Linked DNA regions of Homo sapiens: region 2 is linked to region 1. Evidence: promoter capture Hi-C in human tissues and cell types (Jung and others, 2019). All regions are on one chromosome and are shown on one strand. The core of a region is centred on a gene start or on the middle of the fragment in contact, and the rest is flanking DNA. Distances in the headings are between cores, read along the strand shown. Region 1 holds the start of GP9 (glycoprotein IX platelet). Region 2 overlaps CFAP92 (cilia and flagella associated protein 92 (putative)).

Region 1 (5,755 bases), core at 1-2,500:
GCAGATAGGTGAGGCTGCAGTCACAGTGCCAGGGGTTCTGCGTCACATCGAGGGTCTGCAGCTGGGGCAGGTGGTCAAAGGCTCCCGGGGGCACGGACTGAAGGCTGTTGTTGGCCAGCAGAAGGTGGCGGGTGCGGGCCGGCAGGGCAGGCAGGGCCGTGAGTCCGTGGCCCCTGCAGTCCACCCACAGCCCCATGGTTTCCAGGGCGCGGCAGGTACATGGGCTGGGGCAGTCCTTGGTGGCCTCTGCTGTGGCCCAGAGCAGGAACAGGGCTCCCCAGGCAGGCATGGGACAGGCTGGCTGCAGAGAGAGGGGCTGTGAGGGAGGGCCTGGCAGCCTGGACCGATCCTCAGGGACGGCAAGCACTGGGGATGTAGCGGAGCCTGACATGGGACGGGGTGCACTCACCTCCCTTCTCGGGTCTCAGCCTTCTCCTCTGGGAAACCAGCTGGTGACTAGGGAAGGTGGAGTGTGCCCAGCCCAGGCCTGGCTAACTGTCTCTGGACACCGTAGAAGGCCGGGCGGTGAGGGCGGCTGTGGATTGGGTAAGTTTGTTTTTGGGAAGGGGAAGGGACTTCCTGGCCCTTAGCAGAGACCCCATCCCCTGCTTGGGGATGAGAGGAGCAGATGGCTGCTAAATGAGTCCCAGCCCAGGACCACAGTCCCCAGAGACTAGGAAAGAGCCTTGGAGGGCCCTGCAGGCTGCGCCCAGCACCCCCCACCAGCTAAGTGAGCTGTTACCTGATTCCCAGATGCAGAAGACAGCAGGACAGGGACACTGGCTGGAGCAGGGAGGGGAACTCAGTGGGACCCCATCTGGAAAACCACTCATCTGGGCTAACACTGACTTGGGGAAACTGAGGCCCAGAGAGGGAAAGCAATGTGCCCAGGGCCACCGGTGTGGTGTCAGAGGCCAGACTCACACTCGGGTCTCGGCAACCGTGGCCCTCTGTTTGGTTCTTCCCCACAGGCGTTTCCCCTCCACCAGCAGAGCTCCCCCTACCCACAGCAGGTTTCCAGTGAATAAGTGTCAAATCAACTCACTCATCTTGACTCAGCCAAGGAGATGGTGTCTCAGAGGGAATGTCCCACCCAACCCTGTCTTGTTAAAGGGACAGGAACTGACCTCCTCTCTCCCTGTGGGAGGCCATGCTGGGTAATACGGAGGGCCACTTACCTGTGAAGCCTTTGGTCAGGTGCTCCTGTCTGGCCTGAAAGGTCCTGGCTGAGGCCTGGGTGGCAACTCTATGGGATACAGCTGAGGTGGCCGCTGCGGGAGCGGGCGGAAGGAAGTGATGAAAATAGCCTGGCTTATCCCCCCAGTGCAGCCTTGGGGCCTATTTCCAGAGGCAGGAGGCCCTCAGGGGCCCGCGCCTTGGGCACAGAACCACATCTCAACCCCGGTTTATAGAAGGGGGTCCCACTGTGCCGCCAGTGCCTTGATGGGCTTTGGAATCAGGTCTGTGGAGGACTGAGGGTGGCCCCTCACCTGCTCCCAGAAGGTGGGAACTAGGAGACCCCTGAGAAACGTGGCTCTGCTGGTTGTTCCTCCGAATCTCAGTTTTCCTCATCTGTAAAGTGGGAGCAGTGACCGGTCCTGCCTGCCTCACAGAGGTGTGGGCTGGGCAGCTCCCACTGGCTGAGAACACCATGGTGGGGAGAGTGACTTCATTTTTAACTCTCCTCCCTCCTCCTGTATACTCAAGGACGGAGTCTCTTCTTGGTGCCATGGTGTTTTTAGCTCCTGCCTAGTGCTTCTCCATGCCTCTTTCTAACAAACAGCTGTAGGCCTGGGAAGCAGAGCCTCTACCAAGTGTGAATCTCTAGCTAGAATTTTGGCCTATGGTTTTAACATTTGCAGTACATTTTCTTCTAGAGCACATTCTACTTAGGGGAGGGACACCATTTTCCATTTATGTTAGTGACATAAAGCTTCCTTTAAAAGATAAATATATTTTGGGATGGAGAATTGCTTGAACCCAGGAGGCAGAGGTGGCAGTGAGCCGAGACCGTGCCATTGCACTCCAGCCTGGGTGACAGAGCGAGACTCCGTCTTAAAAAATAAATAAAACAGGGTAAAAACACAGAAGTTACAGAAGCCTGGCAGGAAAAGCCAAAGACAGAAGGCTGACGGAGGCTTTAAACGCACTTCGTTGACATTCAGGACCCTCGGGAATATTCCTCGGCCCTACGGGGGTGGGGGTGTGCTTGTTCTTATTTTGGTCTCACATCCTTCTCAGGCCAGCCTTCCTCCTCCTGCATGGCCAAGCAGGGTGAGTCCTTCCTTGGGAGGCCGCCTGTTCTCTCCCCGCCTCCTGGTTCTGGATTTGGGTAGGGCAGGATTTGGGTGTTCACCCTCCTAGGAGGCCCTGAGAGGCTGCCAGGCCCCAGCTCTGCTTCCTCCACCCACTGATGCTGGGCTCAGAGAAGGGTGGGGAAGGTGCTGTTCCCCCACTGATGTCACACCTGCTCGGGGGCCTGGTTGCTGCTGGGGGTCCCCTGGTATGTGCTCAGTGGGGACTCTGACCGGAGCCTGGACCATGGAGAGGAGCCTCAGCCTGTCTGGCCCTTCCCTCCCTCCCCATGGAGCCTTGGCATGTTCCACCTCCTCTGCCCTGCACACATTCACCAGTGAGCCCCACGCAGGTGGGTAAGGGGTTCTGGAGTGAGTGGGGGTGCTGGAGCTGCCAGGCCAGGTGTTGTGACCAGATCTGGTGGGGCCTGTGCCCTCCTTCCTCTTGAGCCTCTGAGATTTCCTTATTTTCAGCATGTACAACTTAAAACAAAAAACTAGATCAACATAGATGGGTTTTGTGAATTTAAAAAACTACATAAATAACAAATAAATGATTTTTGTTGTGGGAAATTAGAATGTTCAGATGAACTGGAAGAAGAAAATAAAAATTTCCCTCCATCCCAACATCAGGCAAGGCTTTTTCCCCATGTGTATTTACCCATATGGGTAAATACATACCCATCTGCCCAAGAGGCACAGGATAATGCAGGAAGTGGATCTGTAAACAGCCTGGGTGAGCCTGCAAGTGGATTCTCCCAGAGCCTCCAGAGAGGAATGCAGCCCTGCCAGCAGCTTGATTTCCACCTACAAGTGATGCAGGGCAGGTGAGCCCCCAAATCAGGGCTTTGCCCCTGAGGGCTCTTGGCTTTGGCCAGGAAAGAAGTCAAAGAGCCAGTGGTGAAGAAAGCCGCTTTATTGAAGCAGCAGTGCATAGCAGAGGTGCTGCTCTCTGGGAGCAGGGCTACCCCACAGGCAGTGTGCCCAGAGCAGTAGTGTGTGGGCTTTTGGCAACTGCACTTACAGCCACTATTCATTACATGCAAATTCAGGGGCAGGTTATTTCAAACTTTCTAGAAAAGGGGTGGTGAGTTTCCAGAACCCTGTAACTTTCAGGTTGTTGCCATGGCGTGCTGCCATGGCATTTGTAAACTACCATGGTGCCAGGGGGAGTGTCTATGTTAGTGAGCAGTGAGGGCAACTAGCGGTTGCTTTCGTTCCCATCTGCTGGTTTCTGGTGTCTGCCAGCTTCTTCACTACACCTTGTTTCAACCAGATCCTGCTGCCATCAGCAGGCTGGGGACCGGGGGTCCTGACAGGTGCTCAGAAAACAGGTCCTGCTGATCTACCTCAGGAGGGCTGGAATAAGAGAACCCACAGGAGCTGTGTGATGAAGAATGAGAAAATAAATGTGTGCTGCATTAAGCCTCTTGTGACAGCAGCAATAGGAACCAAGGCGAAGGCCAAGCCCCACTCTTGTGCTGTGAGTTGTCCCCTCTCCATCCTTCCAGGACATTGCCCCATCAGGTGCCCCTTCCTCTGCATGATCAATTTCTCCTTCACTGGGTCATTCCATCAGGTTAGGAGCAGCCAGACCAGGCGCGGTGGCTCACGCCTGCAATCCCAGCACTTTGGGAGGCTGAGGCAGGCAGATCACTTTAGGTCTGCCTAAAGTGGGTTTCGAGACCAGCCTGACCAACATGGAGAAACACCATCTCTACTAAAAATACAAAATTAGCTGGGCGTGGTGGTGTATGCCTGTAATCCCAGCTACTTGGGAGGCTGAGGCAAGAGAATCACTTGAACCCAGGAAGCGGAGGCTGTGGTGAGCTGAGATCGCGCCATTGCACTCCAGGCTGAGCAACAAGAGCAAAACTCCGTCTCAAAAAAAAAAAAAAAAAAAAGAAGCAACCTATAATCCTGCCCTTTTGAAAAATCCTTCCTTAATTCCACCTCTTTCTCCAATTACCATCTGATTTTTCTGCTTCTCTCTTCCATAAAACTCCTCTGAAGAGTCACTTCTACTTGCTGTCCAACCCATCAGTAATTCCTGTCATTTCAGTCACCAGGATCTATTCAGAACTTAACCACTTCTCCCTGTGCTGCTACTGCTCTGGTCTTCGTTCGCCTTCTTGGCTTCCCATCGCAAATAAAAGAAAACCCGTGCCCCTGTGGTCAGGAAGCTACAGGCCCCCCTGTAGCTTGGCCCCTGCCTATTTCTTGACCCCATCACCCACTGTCTACTTTGCTCATCAATGTCCAGCCACACCAATTTTCTTCCTGTTGCTCAAACACTCCAGCACTTTCCTGCCTCAGGGCCTTTGCACTTGCTGTTCCCTCTGCCTGGAGTGCCCTTCCCCCAGAGCCCCACATGGCTTCCTCCTGATCATCATTCTCATCTCAATTCAGATGACCCCTCCTCAAAGGCCTCCCTTGCCAAGGCACAGCTCCATCCTTCTGTACCATAATATTCCATTTCATATCTTCCTTAGCATTGATCAGGATCTGAAATGATCTTATTTTTACATTTTTATGTGTTTATTAAATGTCTCCTCCCATTGATGTGAAACTCAAGAGGGCAGAGACTCTGTCCCATTAACTCTTCCCTCCCCAGCACCTCTGCCTGGCCCATGGGCATTATCTAATACATACTTGTCAGCCTTGCTGGCTGTCTCTTCTCTAGTGCTGGCCTTATCTGTGTCTTGCCAGGACTGCTGTCTCCTTGATGCTGGCCTCTGCCTCTACTATACAGGTTTAATCTCACTACACTCCTGCTCCATGTCTTTCATGGCTCCCTGCTGTCTTCAGGACACCCTCTGCCACCCTGTCCAGCCTCACCTCTCATCTCTTCCTGATCTGAAGCTTCGTGGTAGGCTAGCCATGTCCCTCACTCCCCACCCACATGCCAACTTCTGTCTGTGCTTTTGCCTCTGCACTGCCCTCTTTCTGGAGCCCTGTGGAATTTTGCCTGGCATGCTGCATCCTTTAAGATTCACCGGGGGCATAACTTCTTACGGGAAGCCCTCCTCGACGCACTCACCCAGCCGTTTGCTTATCTGTTTGCAAATGGGCCCAGCAGCTCCTTGGAGAACCTCAGCACCCACTAGGGAAGTGTTCGCAGATCTTGTGACTAAAAGTTGGTTGAGCCTCTCAGGCAATTTCAGGTGATACATGCCTATGACACAAATAACGAGAAACATGAGGGAGACAGCCACTCCTTTCTTGTCCCCTGAGCTGAAGGAAACAGCCTCTGTTTGGTAATCGTATTATGAGGCAAACTGCTTAGGTAAACTTACTTTGGAGGCTGGGATCTTTCAATATCCCCCAAGACAATTTTTCCTTCTCATGGGAAGCAGAGGGGATTAAGAGGCAGTGATTATTAGGTAGCATTTTTAGCCTGTGTGCAACCAACAGGAAATGGGTAACCCTGTCTGCCACTGTTGGACCCCCTTGGAACAGAG
Region 2 (5,613 bases), core at 3,007-5,506, 140 kb after region 1:
CTTGGTTTGTTGAGGGGCCTGAGGCAGGCCCCTCTTCCCATTTCCCGAAAGAGGTTGTCCATCTTTGCTAAATTTAGAATGACACTGATTTGCCCAGTGATTGCCTTTCTTACACTGGGGGCATACACTGGGACTTTTCTGTTGATTGATGGTAGTTTTTGCCTTTTGATTTCCTTTTCTACATTCCTTTTTTCTGTGTCCAAATTGCCCACAATTGAAACAATGGCCCAAGAAATGGGGCATATTCTTTCCTACTTTCAATCCAGCCATAGCCTGAGCTAAAAGATTAGCCTTATGTAAGTTACCTCCAATGCCATCGCAAGCCTTAATACATTCAGCTAACTGAACCTTCCCTGTCAGGGGTCTAATAGCAGTTTGACACTGCATTAGCATTATTGTATGTAAGAAGCTGTATTAAAACATCCTGAGCAGAATGTTTGCTTTCACTTTGTGCCATTGTTACCCTGGTCCTTCCGAGTGCTCAGCTTTCCTGCTGAGCTTCTTTCAGTCGTCCTCGGGTGTCCTCTGATGATGCATCCTCTTTCACACACTCTAGTGTTCCTTCACTGGGGTGTTCGTTGCCTCATATTGGGCGCCAGGAATGTTGGGGTGATCAGACCCAACTCCAGGCTGTGGGGACTATGAAGTCCGGCAGAGTCAAACAGATGAGACAAGAGTGCATAAAGTGGGACCAGGGGGCCAACACTAGTATGGAGGCTGTGAAGGCCCCGAGCTCTGGAAGCCCACACTATTTATTGGTGATCAAAGAAGCAGGTGGTGAGGATGTGGGGGTTGAAAGAAAGCAGTGTATCAAGTGCATGATCTACAGCTGTGATGGTTTAGAATTTTCTTTGAAGCATATGGAACATGTTCTGCTACTTGAGATAATGGGAAACGTATTCTTCTAGTTTAAGACACAATCGATCTATGAGCCTTGGAGTGCTAGAAGCAAGGAGCCAACAAGTCGAGACACATTCCAGAGGCCACGAGGGGTTTTATGCGCTGTTCCCTGGATTCCGTCCAAGCCACGCCCTTGTGGCTTGTGCCCTGGGCTTAGATTGTAGTGCGGCAGGGCAGCCTTCCACCCTTTGGAACAGAGCTTGGTGTTCCAAAGGCCACAAGGGGTTTTAGACCCTGGACGCCGGACATGTTCCAAGACTCTTTTACGTTACGTCAGACATGCAAGCCCTGCCTCAGCCTTTTTCCCAACACTCAGCTTTTCCCCAACACTGTGTCCAAGCTGCAATTAAACCCATCCACTGGATTGTAACTTTAATGATGATTTCTTCAATTCTATGATTTCCATTTATTTTTTCTATAGGTTCCAGGTGTCTGGTGAAATTCTCATTTTCATTTATTTTGATTAATCATAATTATTTTAATTTTTTTTTCTTGAGATGGAGTCTTGCTCTGTGGCCCAGGCTAGAGTGCAGTAGCACTATCTTGGCTCACTGCAAACTCCGCCTCCTGGGTTCAAGCAATTCTCCCTGCCTCAGCCTTCTGAATAGCTGAGATTACAGGCACCTACTGCCACACCCAGCTAATTTTTGTATATTAGTAGAAACAGGGTTTCACCATGTTGGTTAGGCTGGTCTCTAACTCCTCACCTCAGGTGATTCACCCACCTCAGCCTCCCAAAGTGCTGTGATTACAGGCATGAGCCACCATGTCCAGACTAGTTTTAATGTTCTTGTCTGATACTTCCAATATCTGGATTACCTGGGGTCTGTTTCTATTGTCTTTTTTCTTGGTTTCCATCTTTTCATCCTGTTACCTGGCATGTCTGTTATTTTTTGTTAAATGGTAAAGAGGGTATTGAAAACTATAGAGACTCTTGATGTCTTATTCCAGAGATGATAAAGCAGGAGACAGAGGACAGATAAATCTCCTTAATCAGAGTCAGGCTTGCCCTTACTCCTAAAGCAGATTTTCTGAATTCTAAACTGGAGGCCTAGAGGTACCAGGGCCCTTCCTCCTTGGCACAATTTCCAATTTTGAAATCCAATTTTGTTTCTCTAGCAATGCAGCATTTTCCAAAATACCTCCTTAGCTTCTAAACTTCTTAAGCTTCTTTTTCTGCTTATGTTCTTATTTCTGCCTTATCCATGTGCAAATTAGGAGTCAGTAAATCCCTTGAGAGAAAACTGCAAAAAGAAAATGGAACCACCATTATTTCCCTTTTCTCCAGATTCTTGGACTCTCAAATCCTGGTTGCCTTGGTTGTTCTCCAGTGATGTTAGATAGATGTCTATTTCTTCTTGTAATCCTGTCAGTTGTTTCTTAATATATTTTGAGACTATATTGCTAGGTGCATATATATTTACAAGTTATCCCTTTTTGTTGTCCTCAATATACAATATCCTTTTGCCCCTTTTGATAGATTTTTAACTTGAATTGTTTCAGCAGATATTAAGAATGCCACACAGCTTTTTTGTCTTTGTTTTCTCATGCCTTTTTGCCTAGTGTATATGCTGTCTCCCTTTAGTTGTCAAACCTGTATCTTTGTGTTGAAAGTTTTGTAGATAGCATATTGTTAGCTTGAAAAAAAAATCCAGGCTGGGTGCAGTGGCTCACGCCTGTAATCCCAACACTTTGGGAAGCTGAAGTGGGTGGATCGCTTGAAGTCTGGCGTTCGAGACCAGCCTGAACATGGTGAAACCCTGTCTCTACTAAAAATACAAAATTAGCCAGGCGTGGTGGCACACGCCTGTAATCCCAGCTACTTGGGAGGCTGAGGCAGGAGAATCACTTCATCTCGGGAGGCGGAGGTTGTAGTAAGCCAAGATCGCGCCATTCCACTCCAACCTGGGCAACAAGAGCAAAACTCTGTCTCAAAAAAAAAAAAAAAAAAAAAAAATCCAATCTGAGATTCTTTAATTGGCAAGCTTAACATTAATTACTGTTAGGTTAGGCATTTTTGCCACCTAATCTACTTTTAAACCCTCCGTTCCTGTGTTCCTTGGATAGATCAAGTTTTCTTCTGTGGACTTAAGTTATACATTCTATCTTTCTTTTTAAGGTGGTTATCCTGAAGACCATATGGTTAGGCATTCCTACTGAACATTAAACTCATAAAACTATATTCTCTTTATAAGACAAATTGTACATTTACATCCCTTTTATCTCATCTCCTACCCACACTCCACCATCCCTTTTATAGTCTCTAGAATTTCAATTCCAGGCTCTGAAATTTTATTTTCCTAGTCCTTTTAAGACAACTTTACTAGGCTATCGGACATTACTTGCTAACCTTGAATCCTCCTGCATGTTCCTCCTCCATTTTGAATTTCTCCAAAGAGTTTTGTGACTTTTGTTTTGTTTTTTTGAGACGGAGTCTGGCTCTGTCACCCAGGCTGGAGTAGAGTGGCATGATCTCGGCTCAATGCAACCTCTGCCTCCTGGATTCAAGCGATTCTCCTGCCTCAGCTTCCCAAGTGGCTGGGACTACAGGCGTGTGCCACCATGCCCAGCTAATTTTTGTATTTTTTAGTATGGAAAGGGTTTCACTGTATGTTGGCCAAGCTGGTCTTGAACTTCTGACCTCAGATGATCTGCCTGCCTAGGCTTCCCAAAGTACTGGGATTACAGGCATGAGCCACCACATCTGGCCCCAAGAGTTTTTAAAGGAGGGTTTTATGTAAAACCTAAGGCCTTTAAACCTAAGCCCTCACAATTAGTTTGCTTGGATATGAAATTGTAGGTTGAAGTTAACTTACCTTGTTGCTGTTGTGGATCTGATCACAAGTGATAGTTTTTCTTTACAGGTGGCCTGCTCTTTTCCTCTAGAAGCTTTGAGAGTTTATCTTTGTATTTGTTTGCTTAAATCCCACTAATAATAGTGTACCCAGGCTTGGAAGTTTTGTCTTTTCTGACATTCATTATTGCTTCAAATTTTCTTGTTCTCACTTTTCCCCTCCTTTTGGGATTTCTGTTATTTGGATGTTATTTCCATCCTCTATACTCAGTTTCTAATTTTATCTTTTTTATACAGGACTGCTTTCTGAAAGCATATCTCAAGTGGATATTCCAGTTCATTCATTCGTTCTACAACAGTATCACTTCTGCAATATATCTCATTCTCTTGTCTTCTATTTCAACTATTTTCATACTCAATACTTTTTCTTTTAGTTTTACTTCTGCTTCATATTGCTATCTTCACTCTTATTTTAAAACAATTTCTTATGTTAAATTCTTAGCCCATCTTTTCCAATAATTTAGCTTCAGTTGTTCAGTCTGTGGCCTTTTTTAAATACTGTATTTACTTCTCCAGCATCTAGTTACTTTTGCTCTGAGTCCAAATTCTCCTGCAGGTGTCACCCCTCAGCAGAGAATCTCAGGCACCCAGAAGAACTACGGAACAGTTTGCTTTCCCTGTAATAAGCATTAGGTCAGAATTTCAACTTCAAATTGTAAGAAAGGAGTAGCATGGAAAGAAGAATCTGTCCCCCTAGGTTGTAATTCACGAATTCTAGGATTTGGAAGGAGCAGGGGACTTCTAGGAATGGCTAACTGAGAAACTCAGATCAACTCCCCCACTAAGGACAACTAGAAAAACTGGACACATCAAGAAATATTGATTGAAGTTCCATGTGGGCCATGACAGGATCCTTGCTCTATGTGGCATCCCTAGTATAATCTTCTCGCAGGTGCTCCAAAGTCTGAGGACCTAGACTTGCCTTTACCTTGCATCCCTTGTTGCCTGGACAGTCTGTTCTTTCATGTGTGTGAATCACAAATTTTGTCCTCCCCTGATTATTTTAAATTCTTGTGCATTAATTCCTCAAAGATTCCAAAGTCAAGCCACTGTAGTTGAGCTAAGGTCACCATCTTGTGCTAAAAAATTTTTTAAAGGTAAAAGATGGTATTTTGCTGAAGGTTACTGTGAAATATGCATATGAAACACTGCACAGTGCCCAACAATTTAGAGTGGTAACTTTCCCAGTTCTCCCTTGTTTTGGGTCCCAGCCACCTTTCCCCCCAGCCTTCTGTGTTGTCTTTTATCTCCTTCCACATTTCTATTTTCATTCACAAAGGAAGCCAACAGACCATCTTATTTCTCTCTGTTCAGGGAAGAGTTCCCATTTCCTTACTGGGCCTGCTGGACAGAATGAGGGTCATAATCCTTATGCACACTTGACAGTTAACCATGGTCAAGGATGGCAGTCCTTGCTGCTTTAGGTTGTAATATCCCCTGTCCACACTCTCCTACTTCTGACCATGTGAGACACAAATTCTGTCTTTATCACAAGGTGGTTGGGAGATGAGTGGCCAGATGATGTGTGTTCCAGTTACAGTGACCTTAGGGGTCTCAATTTTTTGGTCCTCTTAAATTCCATTTTGGATAGTGAGAGGTTGGACTAGTTGGCCCTTTGCCCTGGTTCTATGATGAAATAACAGCACCAGTATTGAAGAATCAATCAATACCTGCACCACAGCTAAGTCCCAGAGATCATCTCACTGCATATGAGCTGGCATGGGGGGTGAGGATGACCTGGTGTGGGTAGTGACTGGTGTCTCTTTCTTCAGAAAAATATCACAGAAGCCTACCAGGTCAGCAAGAAGCCTCCGAAGTCCGTGGCGAAGGTGATTAAAATTTCAGCCCCTGCCAACAAG

What was found. The method cuts DNA at HindIII sites, captures the fragments that hold promoters and counts their contacts. A contact is called where the count stands out against the background at its distance.
Region 2: a fragment that was not itself captured here is called in contact with the fragment with the promoter of GP9 in region 1 in 2 of the 25 tissues and cell types used here (H1 embryonic stem cells and spleen).

What each region holds. Positions count from the first base shown.
Region 1 is chr3:129,056,274-129,062,028 of GRCh38, reverse strand. GP9 (glycoprotein IX platelet) reads right to left here and starts at 1,250. Exons shown (of 3, transcript NM_000174.5): 1 at 1,179-1,250; 2 at 410-535; 3 at 1-301. The coding sequence starts at 289. The HindIII fragment of the contact is 8,053 bases long and covers 1-3,545 here.
Region 2 is chr3:128,916,185-128,921,797 of GRCh38, reverse strand. CFAP92 (cilia and flagella associated protein 92 (putative)) reads left to right here. Exons shown (of 16, transcript NM_001394090.1): 13 at 5,527-5,613. Among named protein-coding and RNA genes, the nearest start is that of ACAD9, 39 kb to the right of the region's middle. The HindIII fragment of the contact is 3,559 bases long and covers 2,477-5,613 here.